Regions from separate parts of the Homo sapiens genome. Here all the other regions are linked to region 1. Evidence: promoter capture Hi-C in 16 types of primary human blood cells and fetal thymus (Javierre and others, 2016). All regions are on one chromosome and are shown on one strand. Each heading gives the region's core, a stretch centred on a gene start or on the middle of the fragment in contact. The rest is flanking DNA. Distances are from core to core; before and after follow the strand shown.

Region 1 (3,160 bases), core at 638-3,137:
GGCTCGTTGGGCGGCTGCACCCCTAAGTAAATAAAGCCATAACTTGTCTCCTTCCCCAGCGCCGGGCTCCCAGGCTGACAGTGGCTGCACAAAACCCCTCCTGTGCCGAGCAGCGGAAACTCCTAATGAGATTAGTTGGTGTGTGTGCAGACATTACTTAGCAATGACTAAGGGGGCTCTCTCTTCCTGCAGCAGCCAGTGGAAAATTCAAGGAACTTTTTCCCCCTGCAGCAGCAGAATCCCTTTAACCCTCTCCGCAGCCAACTCCAAAAACAACTCAGCCTCCCCTTTCCCCGCCACCCCCAGGCTGGAGGACTGGGGTGGGGGTAGTTAAAGACCGGCCAGGGGCTTTCAAATGAGGGAGGGTGGGAGGGGGCTGGCGGGGAAGGGGCGGGGGACCCCTCGAACACTACAAAGGAAACTGTAAAAGGCACAAATACATAAACCTAAGAAGGAGCAAACCACAGTTTCTTTGTGAGCTCCTCTAGTGAGTCATTTTCAAGATGCTGTCTGCTGCCAGTTTCAAAGCGGAAGCGCATGGCAATTAGTCTTGCCGTTTCCAGACAAGCCAGAAACTCTCCCGACACTCGTTTTTTTTTCTTTCTAAAAAGCCCCTTTTGCAGTTTCTGAAATAACATTTCTTGCTTCCACCTCCACCCGCCGCCTAACTGCAGCTTGTCCCTAGGATGATTCGGTTCAGAAAAGATAACAAAACCAAGACCTTTTATTTTTGCTTTTTAACTACTCCAAAATCTTAATCCCGCCTCCCCAAAAGTTACAGTAGCGTCACAGGCCAACGTTGAGTTCGAAGGTAAACAGGGATGGGGAGTGGAAGGGGCCCCAAGATCATTTCTTGCCTGGTCCTTCTCCAAAACCATGCCCAATAGAGACCACCGGCTTTTAAATGTCCGATGGGGCGTGCGCCTGGGGCGGTGACCTGGGCGGGGGTCACCTGCCAAGCGAGAGTGGACGCAGCCCCCAGCCCCACACCTTCGCGACCCATGTCCTCCACCGCCCTCTCCATCCCTGTCTTCCTCCCTGGATCCGAGCACCAGTGCACTTTGCCCACTCGAGGGGAGCCTGACTGCGGTCCCAGCTGGAAGGTCGGCGGTGGTCCAGCCTCCAGGCACTCAGCCTGCTCCTGCCACGGTTCTTCCCAGGGACCCGAAGTCTCGCCGTCCCCCGCTCCCCGCGCTGCCTGCAGCGGGGCCCTGGGCGAGCTCCCAGGGTTGCACGCCCGGCGCCCCTTCCTCTGGGGTCGCAGCGCAGCCCCAGGGAGGGGAGCCGCGGGCGCAGGGTCCCCGCAGCCCCGGGCCCGGCGCGAGCTCGGGCGACGGCGGTGGCAGCGACGCGGGCGCAGGAGCATCCGCGGCGCCCCCTCCCCGCGGCCGGCCCTCCCGCGCGGACGCACCGCCACCCCCACCCCGGCCCGCAGCCCACCCCGCGGCGCCCCCCGCCCCACCCCCACCGCGCCCAAGAAAAGAAAGAAAAAAAGAAAACACCCCCAAACAAACTTTTTAAGTGTCCGAGCAACAGGCAGAAGCCCTGTTACCTACCCAGATGTGGGGGAGTCTTCTTCGGGGGGAATTTCTAGGAGGACCCGGGCGAAAGCCCCCGACTTTCCATGCTGACAGGCGTCTGCAGACGGTCTGTGGCTCTTGTAATGAGATCCTGATTTTTCCCCCTTTTTTTCTTTCTCTCGCTCCTCTTTTTTTTTCCCCTCTGGTGTGTGTGAGAGCAGGAAGTTGGAGCAGTCAGGCCGAGCCGGCTCACTTCCTTTACTGCATTATTCCCCAGGCGGTGTGCAGTCTGTGTAAACAGGCTTTTCCGCCCCGCGCCGCGCGCCCCGGCCGCGGCTGTGCGCCGGGGCTGGCCGCCCAGGCCCGCGCCTCCCCCGCCGCCCCGGCCCCGTGCGCGCCCCGCACCGCCCCCACCCGCCCCGCTTCCTGCGCGGCCACCCCGGGGAGGAGCCTCCGACCCGCGGCGACTCCGCGCGGCCGCAGCCCCTCCCCACGGGGAGGGGGGTCCGCCCGCAACCCGCAGAAGCCGCCGCGCTTCCCGGGACACCGGGGATCCCTCCTCACCTCAACCCCTGGGGGTCGAGCGCGCGGGGCACCACGACGGGGTCGTGCCCTGCGCAGTTGGCCCGGGAGGGGGGTCCCGAGGTGGGGAGGCGGCTGGACTCGCTGTTTCCCATCCGCTGGGATGGAAGAGTTGGGGGGCAGAGGGGAATCGAGAGTGGGGTTCAGGGTTTGGTTGCTCTGGGCAAAGGACTGCTTTTCTTGTGGGTGCGGGCACAGTTTCCGTCTGGGGTTGGAGATGGACACCGTTCCTGTCTGGGTTTTCGGTGTTTTAAAAGCCAGCCCTCGGCCGGGCGTGCTGGCTCACGCCTGTAATCTGAGCACTTTGGGAGGCCAAGGCGGATGGATCACCTAAGGTCAGGAGTTCGAGACCAGCCTGGCCAACACGGCGAATCCCCGTCTGTACTAAAAATACCAAAACAACAACAACAAAAACAGCCAGGTGTGGTGGTGGGTCCCTATAATCCCAGCTACTTGGCAGGCTGAGGCGAGAGAATCGCTTGAACCTGGGAGGCAGAGGTTGCAGTGAGCTGAGATCGCCCCATTGCACTCCAACCTGGGCAACCAGCGAAACTCCGTCTCAAAAAAATAAAAAAGCCAGCCCTCAGTTGGGGGGCGAGCCTGTGGGGAAAGGATAAGGAGCCACAACACTGGAAGTCATGGAAATAATGCCCGCAGGGTCAGAGACTGAGGCTTGAAGGGAGCCTCTGTGGTCTCAGAACTGGTCTTCACACCTCCACATCCCTCAAGGAGGTCCTGCCTCTGAGGGCTCAGGCCAGGCTCTGATGGGAGAGCCTGCCCATTGCCCTAGGCTGAGACAAGGTTGGGGGGGATGGCTGTTGAAGAGCCTCTCCCTTCCCAGGCCTGCGCCCCAACCTCACTGCTCACCTTCCAGAACCTTCCATTCCCATGCCGCCACTTAGCAGCCCAGACCCCTGGTTTTCAAACTTGACCCAAGGGGCTTGTTAAACCACTAGTGGCTGGGCCTCTCCTGGAGTCCCAGATTCAGTAGGTCGGGGGTGGTTCCGGGCCCCGGCTAATGTCAGAATCACCTGGGGAGTGTTTTGACACTCTCCAAC
Region 2 (3,165 bases), core at 21-2,520, 310 kb before region 1:
TAGAGCCAATCTAACCCGCACTGGTTCTTTGACCCTTCTCCATCTATATTTACTTGTTAACTGCGGCCCTGCTTTTTGAACACCCAACAGTGATTATTCCCACAGTCTCTGACCCTTTCCCCAGTGAAAACCCAAAGACATGCTTTATCCATCCCAATTTACGAGGACAAACATGTCACACGAATGTTGAAAAAAATATATTCATCCTATTATGAAATGCGTATGTTTTAAATCACAAGGTACTCAAGCTACTGTCAAACTTAGCATTGAAGTAACTTTCTGAAAGACACAATGGAAAATAAAATACATCAGCATATACCATTGAAGATAATCCAGCAAAGATGCTCTTGTGGCAGAGCCACTTGCATGATGAGCCTTAAGGAGGACAAGATATGCAGACACTGGACCACAGATTCTTTATTCTTCAGGTTTTCATCACTGTCGCAGACCAGCTGGTAGTTGCACATATTTTTGCCACTCAAAGCATGAAACTGAAACACATGGGAAAATAGAAATAGAAATAGAAATAACTGGCCAGGAACAGTAGCTCACACCTGTAATCCCAGCACTTAGGGAGGCCAAGGTGGGCAAATCACCTGAGGTCAGGAGTTTGAGACCAGCCTGGCCAACATGATGAAATCCTGTCTCTACTAAAAATACAAAAATTAGCTGGGCGTGGTGGCACATGCGTGTAATCCCAGCTACTCAGGAGGCTGAGGCAGGAGAATCGTTTGAACCTGGGAGGCAGAGGTTGCAGTGAGCCAAGATCGTGCCACTGCATTCCAGCCTGGGTGACAAGAGAGAAACTCCATCTCAAAAAAAAAAAAAAGAAAAGAAAAGAAAGAAAAAGAAGGAAGAAATAGAAATAACTTAGGAAAGCATTTCTCAAAATGTAAAAAACTAAAATGGAAACAATTATGGATAATTAATTTAATAGATTAGTGTAAAAAAAAAAAGATAGGTTTCTTTAAAACATCCATCTAGTTAAGACTAGCTTTCCTTAGTCACAAGAAATTCAGAAAGAAAAACAAATCCTATTACCAAAAATACAGAATTGAATCAATTTTTTTTTTTTTTTTTTGAGACGGAGTCTTGCTCTGTCTCCCAGGTTGGAGTGCAGTGGCTGACCTCGGCTCACTGCAAGCTCCACCTCCTGGGTTCACGCCATTCTCCTGCCTCAGCCTCCTGAGTAGCTGGGACTACAGGTGCCCGCCACCACGCCTGGTTACTTTTTTGTATTTTTAGTAGAGACGGGGTTTCACCGTGTTAGCCAGGATGGTCTCGATCTCCTGACCTCGTGATCCGCCTGCCTCGGCCTCCCAAAGTGCTAGGATTACAGGCGTGAGCCACCGCGCCCGGCCAGAATTGAATCAATTGTTATAAGCTCCCCAGTGGCATTTTAACTTATTTATTAATTCAGATGTGATTATAACCATTTACACAATTCACTCAACAAATGTTTCTTGAGCACCTCTATTAGCCACACTCTGCTAGGCAACAGAGACTCTAGGATGAGGAAGAAACGGACACTGCTCTTAGAGGAGGGAAAACAGTTACAGGCTCATGCACCAGGCTCATGCAGCATTGAAGGGACTGCTGCGGTCACTGAATTGAAAGTATTTTGTAAGGTTGGATGAGATGGTTTAAAATAAAGAAGTGAGGCCAAGGCAGGCAGATCACTTGAGGTCAGGAGTTCGAGACCAGCCTGGCCAACATGGAGAAACCCCATCTCTACTAAAAATACAAAAATTAGCCAGGCATGATGGTGCGCACCTGTAATCCCAGCTACTCAGGAAGTTGAGGCAGGTGAATCACTTGGGCCCAGGAGGCGGAGGCTGCAGTGAGCCAAGACTGCACCACTGCACTCCAGCTTGGGCAACAGAGTGAGCCTCGGTCTCAAAAAAAAAAAAAAAAAAGTGAGGCTATTATAGGGGTGACCCAGGCTCAGAAAAAGAGAGAGAGCATTCCATGTATTCCAAGGAATTTGGACTTTAGCCAAAAGGCAAAGTCAATGGGTAGTGGAACAAAATGACAGGTTTCTACTTTAGAAATTAATTGGCCAGGCACGGTGGCTCACACCTGTAATCCCAGCACTTTGGGAGGCCAAGGAGAGTGGATCATGAGGTCAGGAGTTTGAGACCACCCTGACCGACATGGTGAAACCCCATCTCTACTAAAAATACAAAAATTAGCCGGGCATGGTGGTATGCGCCTGTAATCCCAGCTACTAAGGAGGCTGAGGCAGGAGAATTGCTTGAACCTAGGAGGCAGAGGTTGCAGTGAACTGAGATCATGCCACTGCACTCCAGCCTGGGCAACAGAACAAGACTCCAAAAAAAAAAGAAGAAAAGAAAGGAAAGAAAGGAAGAAAGGAAGAAAAGAAAGAAAGAGAAGAAAAGAAAAAGAAAGAAAGAAAGAAAGAAAAAGAAAGAAGAAAGAAAGGGAAAGAAAGAAAGAAAGAAAGAAAAAGAAAGAAAGAGGAAGAAAGAAAAATAAATTCTGGCAAAATATGAAAAGCAAAAAGCAGAAGGTAGGGGGTCAAGGCTACAAAAAGGGGAGTAGGAGAGACCTTTTCCCTAACAGGGTGCCAACCTACATCGCCCAGTATTCTCATTCACGTACCTATGGTACAGCCAAATTGAACTGTTCAATTGTCTCCCAAACATGCCTTAAGAGTTTCTGCTTATTAACCACATACGGGTCCCAAACCCTTGAATAGTCCTCAAGTTTGAAGTAACATAGATTTAGAGTCAGACTGATCAGGGTTCAAACACCAACCCTGCCCATTGCTTTAAGTGGGCTAATAAACTTCCATTTCCTAACCTGTAAAAGAGGCACCTCTTAGGACTTTAATGAGGCTGCAAGATGATAATTCATACAATGTATTTAGAAGAGTACTCAGCACATGAAAACTGCTCAACCAGTGAATCAATGGTAGTAATTAACAAAATACTGGTATACTAGAAATAAAGTATAAATATTTTATATCAATAGATTTATGTTTAATCTTGAGTCGCTTTTTTATACTATGTGATAAGCTTTATTTTTCTCTTCTGTAAAATAGGGATAATAGTATGTAACTCATAAAATTACTTTATCAAATTTGTTTTCCAAAGCACTTTATAAACTAAATGCACTCTACAAGTATTAGTTATTAAATAACAA
Region 3 (2,878 bases), core at 286-2,785, 340 kb before region 1:
CCAGGCAACAGAGCAAGACTCTGTCTCAAACAAACAAACAACAAAAATAACAAAAAAGTATATCATTGTTGAAACAAATAATTAAATAGGTAAACAGAAGAGTAGAACAGAGAGAATCAAAGATGAAATTCGTGACCTGAAAAATCAGATAGAGGAAGCTTCCCAGAATGCAACAGAATAAAGACATGAAAAGAATAAAATAAATAAGACATGGAGGATGAACATCTATCCTGTTAACATCTGTCTAATGGCATCTTCAATGCCTTGAAGGATTTTTTTTTTAAATAATGAATATAAGGAAAGAAATTTAAAAGTAACATGAAAAAATGAAAGAAAGATATGACCTCAAAGTATCTGCTGCATTACTAAACCCACCCCTAGATCCAGTAGAATAAAATGTAAGAATGTCATAAGAAAGAGAAAATTGTAAAAGATACATCTATAAAACAACAAGATTTAAACTGACATTACACTTCTCAACAGAAACACTATATATACAAGATTATAAAAAAGAGCATCAAAATCTTAAAGAAACTTGTAAGTAAACTATTATATCCAGCCAAACTACTTCAAAATTCTTAGAGTTTGTATTTCAGCAAAAAGAAATGAATTTAGAAAGAAGCAATGAAAAATGGGAAGTAATGATGAGGAGAAAAAAATCTTAATAAAGGTATTTTCTGTCTTAAAAAGCAATGACCAGGACTTGTATTCAGAACATAAAAAGAGCTCTCAAAACTCAAGAGAAATAATTAACAATCCAATTAGAAAGTGAACAAAAGACACTAGAGAAAAAGAGAGTATACAGATGGGAAATAAACACATGAAAAACTGTTTAACATCTTTAGCCATTAGGGAAATGCAAATTAAAGTCACAGTGGGATATTACTACACACCTATCAGAATGGCTAAAATAAAAAAGTAATGATACACCAAATTCTGTCAAGGATGTCCAGAAACTGGATCATTTACACATTGCTGGTGGAAATATAGTAGAGTCACCCTGGAGAATAGTATGACAGGTTCTCACAAAACTAAATATGAACTTATCATATATCCAATCCAGCAATTGCACTGTTGAGCATTTTATTCCAGAGAAATGAAAACTTACCTTCACACAAAAACTTGTACTCAACTGTTCATAGCAGCTTTATTTCTAGTAGCCAAAAACTGGAAATAATTCAAATGTCCTTCAAAGGGTAAGTGGTTAAACAAACTGTGGTGTATCCATACCATAAAATAATACTCAGCAGTAACAAGTGAAAAAAAATTTTTTTTGAGACAGAGTCTTGTTCTGTCCCCAGGCTGGAGTGCAGTGGTGGTGGTGTGATCTCCATTCACTGCAACCTCTGACTCCTGGATTCAAATGATTCTTTTGCCTCAGCCTCCCAAGTAGCTGGGACTACAGGCACATGCCATGACGCCTGGCTAATTCTTGTATTTTTAGTAGAGACAGAGTTTCGCCATGTTAGCCAGGCTGGTCTTGAACTCCTGGGCTCAAGGGATCAGCTCGTCTTGGCCTCCCAAAGGGCTGGGGTTACAGGCATGAGCCATGGTACCCCGCCAAGTGAACTATTAATACACACAACCTGGATACATCTCAAGAGAATTATGCTGAGTGAAAAAACAGACAACACACATACGGCCACCTAATTTATGACTAAGGGATACTGCAGCCAACTAAAGGAAGTTATCTTCAATAAATGGTGCTGTGTCAACTGAATATACATATAGAAGTATATAAATCTTGATTTCTACTTCGTATAAACAAAAAAGATCTAATTTCTAATTATAGACCTCATAAACTTAAGGAAGAAACAATAAAACTTATGGAAGAAAACATACGAGAATATATTTACGACATTGGGGTAGCTGAAACTTCTTAACCACAACACACAAAGGATCAACTATATAGGATATATTGATAAATTGGACTATATTAAAATTAAGAATTTCTGTTCCCCAATGGATATCATTAAGAGAATGAAAAGGCAAGCCATCAAGTAAGAAATGATATTTGCAATACATGTATTCAATAAAGGAATTATATCCAGAATAGATAAAGAATTCCTATGAATCGACAGAAAAAAGGACAAAAGGTTAAAATAGGCACCTCACAAAATAGGATATCCAATAGTGAAAAAAGTATATGAAAAAGTGTTTAACTTTATTAGTCATCAGAGAAATTTAAGTTTATACTGCAACACCACTGAATTCACACCAAAATGGACAAAATGAGAAAGACAGATAATACTAAGTGTCAGAGAAAATTTGGAGTAATGGAACCCTGATAAAATGTTGATGGGTGTGCAAACTAAAAAAAACCACTTTGTAAAACAGTATCCAATGAAGCAACATGGGAATATCCCATGCTCTTGCAATTCCACACCAACAGAAATGCATAGCAGATGTTTAACATATTTCTCTGAGTAATTCATAAAATAAAAAGACAAAAACTATCAGTAGGGATAGAGAAGATCTAACCACATGATTTACTAGCTTAACTTAATCAACATATATATAAAGCAATGCATCCAACAACAACAAAAAATACATAGTCTTTCAAGTACACACAGACTATTTACCAAAGCTGGTCATGTGCTAGGCCATAAAGCCTATCTTAACAAATGTTCACAGTTCCAAATAATACATAATGTGCTCTCTGACCATAGTATAATTAACATAGAAATCAGTAACCAAAAGATAATTAGAAAATCTCCCATATTTTGGTTCAGAACCCATATATCAAAGAATAAATCACACTGCGTATTAGAAAATATTCTTACTCCAATAGTAATAAAGATATGATATATCAAAACTTCAGATACATAGCTAAAGCTGAATTTAGAACAAATGTCTTAATATGCATTTAATGTAAATA

Evidence for each region. The method cuts DNA at HindIII sites, captures the fragments that hold promoters and counts their contacts. A CHiCAGO score of 5 or more calls a contact.
Region 2: a contact is called between a fragment that was not itself captured here and the fragment with the promoter of ELK3 in region 1, in 10 of 17 cell types (non-activated CD4 T cells, total CD8 T cells, total CD4 T cells and 7 more). The highest score is 12.7, in non-activated CD4 T cells.
Region 3: a contact is called between a fragment that was not itself captured here and the fragment with the promoter of ELK3 in region 1, in 4 of 17 cell types (total CD4 T cells, total CD8 T cells, naive CD4 T cells and 1 more). The highest score is 8.9, in total CD4 T cells.

What each region holds. Positions count from the first base shown.
Region 1 is chr12:96,193,102-96,196,261 of GRCh38, reverse strand. ELK3 (ETS transcription factor ELK3) reads right to left here and starts at 1,887. Exons shown (of 5, transcript NM_005230.4): 1 at 1,557-1,887. RefSeq lists an enhancer at 512-591 and a silencer at 1,923-2,062. The HindIII fragment of the contact is 11,050 bases long and covers 1-3,160 here.
Region 2 is chr12:96,504,254-96,507,418 of GRCh38, reverse strand. It overlaps CFAP54 (cilia and flagella associated protein 54), which reads right to left. Exons shown (of 68, transcript NM_001306084.2): 4 at 320-491. Among named protein-coding and RNA genes, the nearest start is that of CFAP54, 16 kb to the right of the region's middle. The HindIII fragment of the contact is 3,540 bases long and covers 1-3,040 here.
Region 3 is chr12:96,528,892-96,531,769 of GRCh38, reverse strand. All of the region lies in intron 9 of CFAP54 (cilia and flagella associated protein 54), which reads right to left. Among named protein-coding and RNA genes, the nearest start is that of CFAP54, 41 kb to the right of the region's middle. The HindIII fragment of the contact is 2,750 bases long and covers 161-2,878 here.